Linked DNA regions of Homo sapiens: region 2 is linked to region 1. Evidence: promoter capture Hi-C in human tissues and cell types (Jung and others, 2019). All regions are on one chromosome and are shown on one strand. Each heading gives the region's core, a stretch centred on a gene start or on the middle of the fragment in contact. The rest is flanking DNA. Distances are from core to core; before and after follow the strand shown.

Region 1 (5,483 bases), core at 868-3,367:
GCCATAATAGGTTTCAGACTAGGTATAGTGTTTTTGATTATGTGGATAACTATCTTAAAATCCTTCTGAATGTAGTCGAGGATGTTTATAAGAGTATTTGAAATAAAACTTAGGAGCCATGCAAAAAACCCAGGTCAGTTATCTTCTGTATTAGAAATGATAAGCACAAACTGTATGCTTGTTCAACTGCTTTCCAAAATAAAACATTTTTTGATAGTTTGAAATTGGGTATATAAAGAATATGCAATTGAAATAACTCAACTTTTGGGTGTTTTTGTTTTTGTTTGTGAGATGGAATCCCTGTCGCCCAGGCTGGAGTGCAGTGGTGCAATCTCGGTTCTCACTGCAGTCTCCGCCTCCCAGGTTCAAGCGATTCTCCCGCCTCAGCCTCCCAAGCAGCTTGGACTACAGGTGCACACCATGACACCCAGTTAATTTTTGCATTTTTATTAGAGACAGAGTTTCACCATGTTGATCAGGCTGGTCTCAAACTCCTGGCCTCAAGTAATCTGCCCACCTCAGCTTCCCAAAGTGCTGAGATTACAGGCATGAGCCACCACACTCAGCCAAAATATGAATTTTTTGGATAGTCTTGAAATTTGTATCTTATTTATCTAATCAGTTTGTTTGTTAAATTTCCATTTTATTTTGCACTGGATTAAAAACATCATTATTATAAATATTTTTGCATTGCTTTACAATTTACAAAGCACTTTCACATGCATTCTCTTATTTAATATTCACAGCAATCCTGTGAGTTATATAGAGCAAAATTAGTATCCTCATTTTATAGATGAGGAAACTGAACCTCAGAAGTGTAAGGTCACATTCTGTGTAACAGATGGCGCAGGAACTGTGAGTTGGTGGCTACTGCATTCCCAGTACTGGAGACAAACCTAGCACATCACAACACCCAGTAAATATTTGTTGAATGGATAGATGGAACTCAAAAGCAGGTCTTCTGATTCCAGAATTTCAGGTCATAGGACATAAAATAAAATTCGAATCAACTCATAATAATGTTGAGTGATGCTGATAAACAAGCCTTTCCTGGCAACCAGGAATAATCTACAAATATAAGAAGTCGAAAGATGTTCAGCATTGCTCATATTTAAATACAGACCAATCAAAACAAGGACATGCCATTTTTACCTATCAGATTTAGCAAAGATAACAAAATGGGCTATTCTGGGAACCAGGGAAGATGTGGGAAACAGACACACACTGGTGTGCCGCATGCAAACTCTTGCCACCCACTTGGAGAATGTGTTGCTGTCTTTCAATCTTTCAGATGCACGTAACCTTTTCCCTAACAAGTTCACCTTTAAAAACTGTTGCTACCGACTCCCATATGTACTCAAAGATAGATGCCTAAGAATTTTCACATGCACGTTATTTGCAGTAATAAACAACCAAAAACCATTTAAATGTTAATGAATAGACTAACGATAGTGTAGAATATTGACAGGATGGAAAACTATGCAGCCATTAAAAGGAACAAGGCAAGTCAGTGTGTGCTGATATGGAACAATCTCCAAGATATATTGATAATTGTAAAAAGCAAGATGTCAAAAAGCCAAAGGAAAACCTATACTGACCTGTGTTTGCCTATGCGTAGACTGTCTCTGGTTAGATTCAGAAGACACTATTAACAATTGTTCACTGGCCAAGGGGATTGGGGCAGGAGAGACTTTACACGGGGAACCTTTGGATACTGTTTCACTTTATAATTAAAAGATAATTCGAGAAGATATATCAAGGCCTATTTCTTGGAGGCCAGAGCGCTCCTAACCCCTGAGCCTGCCTCAGCCTCTGGCTCCCACCCCCGCAGCCGCCCCGTCGCCTCTGAGCAGGACGGGGCCCCACTCACCCTTCCCGGCCGCAGACAGAGCGCGGGCGCCCGGGGGAGCCCTGCAGCGGGCAGCTCCGCAGCAGGAGGCCCCGCAGCAGCTGCGCGCCGGGACGGAGCATGACTAGGCCGAGGCCGAGGGCGCAGGCGCCTGCTCCGAGGCCAGCGGGCAGCCTGAGGCCGCGGGGCCGGCGGGGCGGGGGTCGGATCCTCCCCCCGGGCTGGGGGCGGGCTCCTAGACGGCCGCGCGCCCGGGAACCCGGCGCCCACAGAGCCGCGGCACCATGGCACCTGCTGGACGCCCGGGGGCCAAGAAGGTGAGTTTCGTCCCCTCGATCCTCGCGGAGCTCCTGGCCGCTGGGCTGCGAGCGACTCCGTTCACACCCGGCGTCCATCCCTAGCCAAGCCCTGGGGCCTCGGCAAAACACTTGGACGGGATGGCCCTGAGCCTCAATTTTCCCCTGTCACGGGTTGGTTAGCGTTTATGGAGCCCTTACTCGGTGCCTGGCGCTGCACAGAGTGCTGTGCTCAAGTTATCTCCTCATCTTCACAATTATCCCCATTTCACAGGTGAGGAAACTGAGGCTCGGCGAGTCAGGCGACTAGCTCAGGGTCACGGGTCCAGCCCCGCGGGGAGCGAGGATCAGAAGTCTAGCTTTCGGACGCATGTCGCGCACACATTTTCTTCCCTCAACCGACCCTCGCCCGCAGCTCTTTGGGCTAATCCGTCCGGGAACTCTTCGGACTGTCCCCTCGCGTTTTGGAAAAGTCAGCAGCCTGGCCAAGCAGCCTGGCCTTGCGAGTCGCCGGCTGGTCTGAAACTAGTCCTGGGCAAGGACGCCCCCAGAGCTGCGGTGCAGGGTGGAGGGTAGGTGGGATTCGCTAGCACCCCTCAACCTCCTCTCACCCGGTGGTCCCCAGCTCCTGGCCCCTTTCCTGGTCTGGTCACCAGATGTTGGCTTTATGCCCAGCCATTTCTACGTCGAGTATGTGTGGGGGTGGGATGAAGGAGTGACTAAGCAAAATTAGGAAGGGCATGAGCTTGGACGAAAGACATCCCCAGGACCCTTCAGAGACCCCCACCCGCTCCAGCCCTGTCATTCAGAATGGGAGGAAGGGAGGAGGGGCAGTTTATGCGTGGAAATGTGCACCACCGAGCTATTTATACTAAAAAGTTAGAAACGACCAAGATACTCTGCAATACGGGATTCTAAATAAATTAAGGTTCATCTACTTAAGTTATTAGACAGTTAAATAACTTAGTATGAGAACCAGCTAAGTGCCTTGGCAATGTTAAGTTGCAAAAGGAAATATATCACAAACTGATCCCAACCATATACAAATATTTATATACACACTGTAAGGAAGGACACAATAATGGTAATAGTTACACAAGATGTGGAATATTGGTTTAAAAAGCATGTTTTAGGATATTTTTTCAGGTTATAAAAGCAAAATGTGAGCATTGAAAGAATACAGTTAATAAAAATAATCAAAGAACATTGTGCTTTTTTCTCTCAACTTTCTCTAATGCTATGTTCATCTTTACAGTTCATATTTTTAAACGTTTTTAAAATGCCCTGTTTTTGTTCAGTGTCTTTGGGGCCTCTACTGTTACAACACCAAGATTATCACACACTAATCCATGTGAATGTGTACCTGGGAGTTAAGGTGTTAATGGGAAGGAACTAATCTCACCTCTCTCCTCAGCTAGCAGGTACATTTTAAGAATTCATTTAATTGCCACAGACAAGACCTCCAATTAGGTCTTAAATCCAAAAGAGCAGTTCTGCTGGCAAATCTAGGAAAAGGGGAAGTTATTTTAGACAGACTGGGTTTTTCTGATCACCTCCTACTACACAGTGAAGTTGATCCCCACTGAGTATGAATAGAGATGTCTTGAAGCCAGATCTTAAACCCAGAGGTCTTACGTAGTGATATCTGCAAAAAGGGGGCATAAATGCACCCTAGAGCTCGCTGTCAGATGCAAGGCAGGTTCACTGCCAAACTGATGGGGAGGAGGGAATGAAAATATAAATGTACTGCAAAATTAATTTACAGGGTTCCTTATTTTACATGTTCCTGTCTTTATAATTTTACAGTTGACTTTAGATCGTACTAGTATAATGGTGAGGAACAACACACACTGGGGCCTATCGAAGGGTGGAGGGTGGAAGGAGGGAGAGGATCAGGAAAAATAACTAATGGATACTAGGCTTAATACCTGGGTGAGGAAATAACCCATATAGCAAACCTCCAATGATGCACATTTACCTGTGTAACAAACCTGCACATCCTGCACATGTACCCCTGAACTTAAAAGTAAAAAAAAAAAAAAAAAAAAAAACTAAAGAAGGGATCATACTGGTATAGTAATTAATTGAGGTAGTTAGAATAGCAGTGAAGGAAGGGCTAAAAGATGCTCTGATCTCAAATCTTGATAACTTAGTTATTTTGCTAATGGCTATGTAGAAAAATGGCAAATTGGCCGGGCACAGTGGCTCACACCTGTAATCCTAGCACTTTGGGAGGCCGAGGCAGGCAGATCATCTAAGGTCAGGAGTTCGAGACCACACTGGACAACATGGTGAAACCCTGTCTCTACTAAAAAATACAAAATTAGCTGGGCATGGTGGCATGCACCTATAATCCCAGCTACTTGCGAGGCTGAGGCAGGAGAATTGCTTGAACCCTGGAGGTGGAGGTTGCAGTGAGCTGAGATCGCGCTACTGCACTCCAGCCTGGGCGACAAGAGTGAAACTCTGTCTCAAAAAAAAAAAGAAAGAAAAGAAAAGAAAAATGGCAAATTTAAAATGGTGGACAAACATCCAGATAACAAATGAAAATGTCCTCCCTTTACTTGGTTTCATAAAGACACAGTCAAAATATATACTACAATTTTCTTAAAACCTACCTAATTGTCTGCTAAAGAGTAACATTTTTTCTTCTTCAGGACAAAAATTCTAGCATATGCAATACATCTGACATTTTCAAAACAGTCCTGTTTATTTGCTAATTCTTGGCATAGTTTCTTAAGTGTCTACTCATTTTAGTTGTTATATGTGGTGGTAGGGATATAGACCAATAAGATATGTCACCTGCCCCCAAGCCTCTTACAGTCAAACTGAGGTGACAAGTAAGTAACCAGATACTGCTGTACAGGGGGATGCATGAATGAAGGATCTGTGAAGTTAAGCAGGACACAAAAGGGGTATAATCACAGGTGAGACTGGGTCAGTGAGCCTGTGCTCTGGTAGCAATGGAAGACAGTTCAGAGTAGGGCTGGAGAGAACTGGAGACCATTTCAATAATCAAATGCAGTGAGGATGGTGGGGCATTTGAGAAATGTGTAATACACTTGGCATAACCCTGTGATAGGTTGGATGTGGGAGGTGAGAAGCTAACCTACAACATCTGAATTCTGTGCCAATGTTTTCCCTCGACAATTGTTTGAGTAAATTTGATTCTTTTTTTTTTTTTTTTGAGACAGAGTCTCACTCTGTTGCCCAGGCTGGAATGCAGTGGCACAATCTCAACTCACTGTAACTTCCAACTCCCAGGTTCAAGCTATTCTCCTGCCTCCACCTCACAAGTAGCTGGGATTACAGGCACCTGCCACCATGCCCAGTTAATT
Region 2 (5,456 bases), core at 1,313-3,812, 170 kb before region 1:
GTCTTTACCTGTTTTTCCAACATTAAATGATCCACACTGACGTATATTGAAGACACCACTGAAAGATGCATACTACAATAAAAAAATTAAAATGATGACCCTACATCATTAAGATAGTGAGAGACTCATGGCATAGTTAAGGATGGTTTAGACCTAGCAAAAAGGTTTATATCCCATATTCCTGTCATTAATCCTATTTATCTACAGCAATACAATGTGCCTGCCTTCTTCACCTGATACCTTGCAAAGGTCACAACGATAAGCACATGAAAACTTTCACTATCCTGGCATAAAGTTAGGCATATAGACTGAAAAGAGAGAAAATTATTACAGGCTAAGCAGTATGCCTCATGTGCCCTGCATCTCCACTGGAATGATGTTTCCAAATATTAAGTAACAGCTTTTCTCATTCCTAGTAATTTTGTCACCCTGTGACCCTCAACCCAGGAAGCAGGCAGGGAGATCCATGTCTGGGCTCCGGAAATGGATAGTCAGCAGGTGGATGAGCTAATAGATTTAGCTTAAGCAATCACTCAGAGCCAGGGGAAGAGAGAGGACTGGAAACGAAGCTAAAGGACATGGCTGTGACCTTAAGCACACATCTTGGGCTCTGCCCCCAGGACTGGATCTAGTGTAGAAGAAATAATGGACGGAGGGATACAAGAGTGGAAAGAACCATGCCTCATCCCCTGGAGGAGCCGGGGGGCAGATGAGAGGATAGCAAGACTCCCTGCGGTTCTTGTGCCCAGTATAGTGTGGCAGCAGCAGATGACAATGGTTGCACAAGGTGATGGAAGGCAGGCTCAGAGGCTTCTCACACCACAGTGTGGAAGGGGTTGCAGCTGAACTGATGAATGTTTTTGATTTGGTGTTGAGAAGAGCACAAATGTGGCACAGAGATGGTCCAAAGAGTCTCCGCAGGCAAGGAGGTCGCAGCATGATCTAGATGGATGATATAAAAAGGCCAGCCAGGAACAGGAATGTTTCTGCAGAGGCTTGTGCAAGGATGACTATGGACCACACACTTCCTTCAGCTCCAACGCACTGGCTCCCTGGAGGGGAGCCAGGATGAGATCATGAATTAACTGAGATGATCTGAATTGACTGGAACCAGGTTTCCTCCACCCAGCAGAATAGGGACCCCAGAGGTACTGCGTTCAGTGACAGGGTAAAAAAGAAGTAAGTTATATTCTTTGCAGATCTAAGTTTGTGCACTGAAATTTGTGATTACTATGCATATGTGTGAGCACTATGGCTGGATGTCCTAGACTTGATGGATATAATAATTGTGTTAGGCTATTTTGTAGGCGAAATAGAAGTTAAATCCATTTTTATTGTTTTGGTTATTTTGAAGCAGTAATATGGACTCATTCCAAGACTTTACATTTTTATGTAATAGCAACTATAATGATAGGAAAAGTACTGAAATCAGAAGAAAGTTTGTTTCTATAACATGCCTCTCAGGCTTTTCAAATCTAACATCCCCACCCTTTTCATAACAAATATTTTGTGATGCTCCTTTGTCCTGAAATGGAATTTATATACAATACTGTAACTATATGTCTAATTAAAAAAAATAACTCTCAGTGTAATACAGAGTAGAAAAAGGCAATTAATAATAAAATAGCATGTATTTCATAGGAAAATGCGCAGGTTCAACCCTAAAAGACATAGCAAAGTGGTTAGATGAGTGCATACAGTTATAGACGAAATAAATTTGGACTTAAGGCCATTCTATAGTAGAAATACAAAAAAAAAGAGAGAGCAGGGATAAATGCTAAAATAAAGATTAGAATATTAATTATATATTAAAACCACGCAAAAAATACTTTGTGTTTATGTGTAAAACATAGAGACTAGACTTAGGTTCTAGTCTCAGAAAATTGTAAACAAGCTTTTAATCTTCATGACTAACCAGCAGGATATTTTGTAAGTTGTACAGGACTTGGGACAATTCCTCACTGTGTGGGGTTATTACGGGCATTGCATCCTGAGCCCCCTACTCACTAACTATCAGTAACACTCAAGTGAATTTCTAAAATACTCTCAGTAAAAACCACTGCCCTATACAATGGCAGGATTGGGACATATGGCCAGAGATAGGTAGTGACCTCTCTTTCAAGAGGCTTCACAGGTTAGCACTCATTACCTTGTGAATTTAACACAGTTTGGGGTCTGGCCTAAACCTCTGTAAGCTTATAAATAATTCTAACAGCATATGGAAAGAGGTTCCACTTTTTAGAAGCAGAATCACTGTAAATGATATATATATAATCACAAAGTCAATTAATTGATTTACAAAGTAAATTTATCACAGTGACTGGCATGTTTATGGCCCATGGGAGTGGCATAAATGTATGGGAAATCAAGTTATAATCAGATCTCCTGGTAAGTAAGGACTCAGATATAATATTTGTATTTTTGTAATATGTGGACTCTCATAATAATTATTTTTCAGATCTAAAATATATTCTATAAATATAAAATATTTATATTTACTATATTCAAAAATGCACTAAAAGCTGCTTTAATGAGAAAATTCACCAATTTTTAAATATTTTTTTCTAGCAACTAAGACTTCAAAAATGATTAATCTAAGTTCATTCAGGAAAAAATAGATAACGTACATGCCCTATACCCATTAAAGACATTGAAATTAGTAATTAAAAACCTCCCCACAGGCCGGGTGCGGTGGCTGACGCCTGTAATCCCAGCACTTTGGGAGGCTGAGGTGGATGGATCACATGAGGCCAGGAGTTCGAGACCAGCCTGGCCAACATGGAGAAACCCCGGCTCTACTAAAAATACAAAAATTAGCCAGGTGTGGTGGCAGGCACCTATAATCCAAGCTACTCAGGAGGCGGAGGCAGGAGAATCGCTTGAACCCGGGAGGCAAAGGTTGCAGTGCCGAGACTGTGCCACTGCACTCCAGCCTGGGCGACAGAGTGAGGCTCTGTCTCAAAACAAAACAAAACAAAACCTTCTCACCAAGAAAATTTCAGGCCCAAATGCCTTCATTGGCAAATTCTACCAAACATTTAAGAAAGGAATAATACTAGTTCTATACAAACTCTTTCAAAAAATAGATAGGAATCCTGTACTTCCCAACTTATTCTATGAGGCCAGCATTACTCTGACACCAAAATGAAACAAAGACATTACAGAAAAAGAAAACCACAATGAACACAGGTGTAAAAATCTTTAACAATATTTAGGAAATCAAATTTAGCTTTATATAAAAAAACATACATTAGTTTTCTATTACCACACACTTAGCAGCTTAAACAATACACACTTATTATTGTACAGTTCTGCAGGCTGTACAATACATTCAGCTGCTGAGGCCTGTACAAGTCTGATGCAGGTCTCACTGGGCTAATGTCAAGGTGTTGAGAGGGCTGCATTCCCTTCTGGAAGTTCCATTTCCTTGCCTTTCTAGCAAATCCATTTCCTTGCCTTTCTAGCTTCTAGAGGCTGTTTTCACTCCTTGGCTCATGTCTTTTGAGCTTCATAGTAGAGTTATGAGTGGATTGCATACCAGCAATACAGTAAGAGAGTATTCTGAGTTTGTCCAGGTACTTAATTTTACCTGTAGGTTTTATACTTTGAAAAGTTTTCTTTTGCACATTAGCGTTTTTTCTTTCAGACTGAAGAACTGCCTTTAGTATTTCTTGCAAGATGGATCTAGTGGTGGTGAATTCTCTCAGCTTTTGTTTGTCTGGGAAAGATTTTATCTCTCCTTTATATTTGAATGATAATTTTGCTGGATACAATATTCTTGGATGGCAGGCTTTTTTTGTCTCTCTTTGAGCAATCTGAAAATGCCATTCCACTCCCTCCTGGCCTGTTTAGTTTCCTTAGAGTAATCCGTTGCCACATGAATTAGAGCTACTTTACGTGTTATTTGCTTCTTTTCTCTGCTGCTTTTAGGATCCTCTCTTTGTCCTTGACCTTTGAGAGTTTCATTTTTCTATGCCTTGGAGTAGTCTTATTTGGGTCAAATCTGTTTGGTGTTCTCTGACCTTTCTGTAGCTGGATATTTCTCTTTCTCAAGTTTTGGAAAGTTTTCAGTTCTTATCCTTTTGAATCAACTTTCTACCCCTTGCTCTCGCTTCACTCTCTCTTGAACACCAACAGCAGTAATTCTTAGATTTGGTCTTTTGAGGTAATTTTTTACATATTGTAGGTGGTCTTTGTTACATTTTATTCTTATTTCTTTTTTCTTCTCTGATTGTGTATTTTCACACAGCTGGTTTTTGAGCTCATAGATTCTTTCCTCTGCTTGGCTCACTCTGCTGCTCAGAGCCTCTTAAGAGTTCTTCAGTTTGGCAAATGTATTTCTCAGTTCTAAGATTTCTGTTTGATTTTTTAAAATTATTTCAATCTCTTTGTTAGATTTCTCTGATAAATTTCTGCTTTTCTGTATTATCTTGGAGATACCTGAGTTTCCTTAAAACTGCTATTTTAAATTATTGGTCAGAAGCTAATAGTCGCCATCTCGTTAGGGTCAGTCATTGGATTTTTGCTTTGTCCTTTGGGGAGACTGTGGTTCCCTGTTTGCTGTTGTTACTTGCGGGTATATGTCTATGTCTTTGCATTGAAGGATTAATTATTGATTCTAGTTTTCTCTGTCCAGCTTGTTTTGTCTTTCATTGAATATATTTGCTTAATCTTTGCAACTAGATTGCTGCCTCCTTTTCGGCTCTAGGTGGCGCTATAAGCCCAGGTTCACTTTGGCTCTAGTAAACGGTTGCAGTGCTGCCTGTCCCAAATGGGGGAGTCACCAAAGGGATTATCCCAGGTATGTTCTACAGGCTCCTAGGCAGGAACCCCTAGTCAGCAGTGTGGGAAGACTGGCTAGGGGTTCCTGCCCATGGGAACCTGTGGAATGTACCTCCTACAGTGTGGTGCTGCTGAATAGCCACTCTGATTTGGTGTCTCATTTGGCTGAGTTACAGAGCAGAGTTTCCAGGGTTGGGGATGGTAGTCTCACCTTCTGACCTTTGTTGCAGCCTGTCCTCAGAGATATTTCTCCCTACAGGCACTCACAATGCTTCCCATGAGTTAAGGCAGGGACAGGACTCCTGCTACGGAACCCAAGAAGGTGAGGAAGCTGGTTGACCACTCAATTTCACTTTTTCCAGTGTAAAAACAGAATTGAGGGAGATTTTCCACATGCTTGGTGCTGAAAGAATGTAGGGGAGGGGACTCGCAGACGTGGAAATCTGATTCTCCAATCATATGCTCAAGGTTTTTCCACTTCTCTGTGGCCCTGGGGGCTGTCTCATCCTCATACTTGAACTCTGGGTTGTTGCTGGTGAAAATCTCAATGCTATATATTTGTTTTTGGTCTTCTATTGAGGGATTGAAGCTGGCTTGCTTCTATACTACCATTTTGAAATCCTGCATTCCTTGATTCATGCCCTCTTCCTTCACCTTCAAAGTCAGCAATGGGC

Evidence for each region. The method cuts DNA at HindIII sites, captures the fragments that hold promoters and counts their contacts. A contact is called where the count stands out against the background at its distance.
Region 2: a fragment that was not itself captured here is called in contact with the fragment with the promoter of BHMT2 in region 1 in 1 of the 25 tissues and cell types used here (mesendoderm cells).

What each region holds. Positions count from the first base shown.
Region 1 is chr5:79,067,650-79,073,132 of GRCh38, forward strand. It overlaps BHMT2 (betaine--homocysteine S-methyltransferase 2), which reads left to right and starts at 2,118. Exons shown (of 8, transcript NM_017614.5): 1 at 2,118-2,166. The coding sequence starts at 2,134. It overlaps DMGDH (dimethylglycine dehydrogenase), which reads right to left and starts at 2,025. Exons shown (of 16, transcript NM_013391.3): 1 at 1,871-2,025. The coding sequence starts at 1,971. The HindIII fragment of the contact is 19,729 bases long and covers 1-5,483 here.
Region 2 is chr5:78,895,306-78,900,761 of GRCh38, forward strand. All of the region lies in intron 4 of ARSB (arylsulfatase B), which reads right to left. Among named protein-coding and RNA genes, the nearest start is that of ARSB, 87 kb to the right of the region's middle. RefSeq lists a silencer at 4,764-4,853. The HindIII fragment of the contact is 5,434 bases long and covers 1-5,279 here.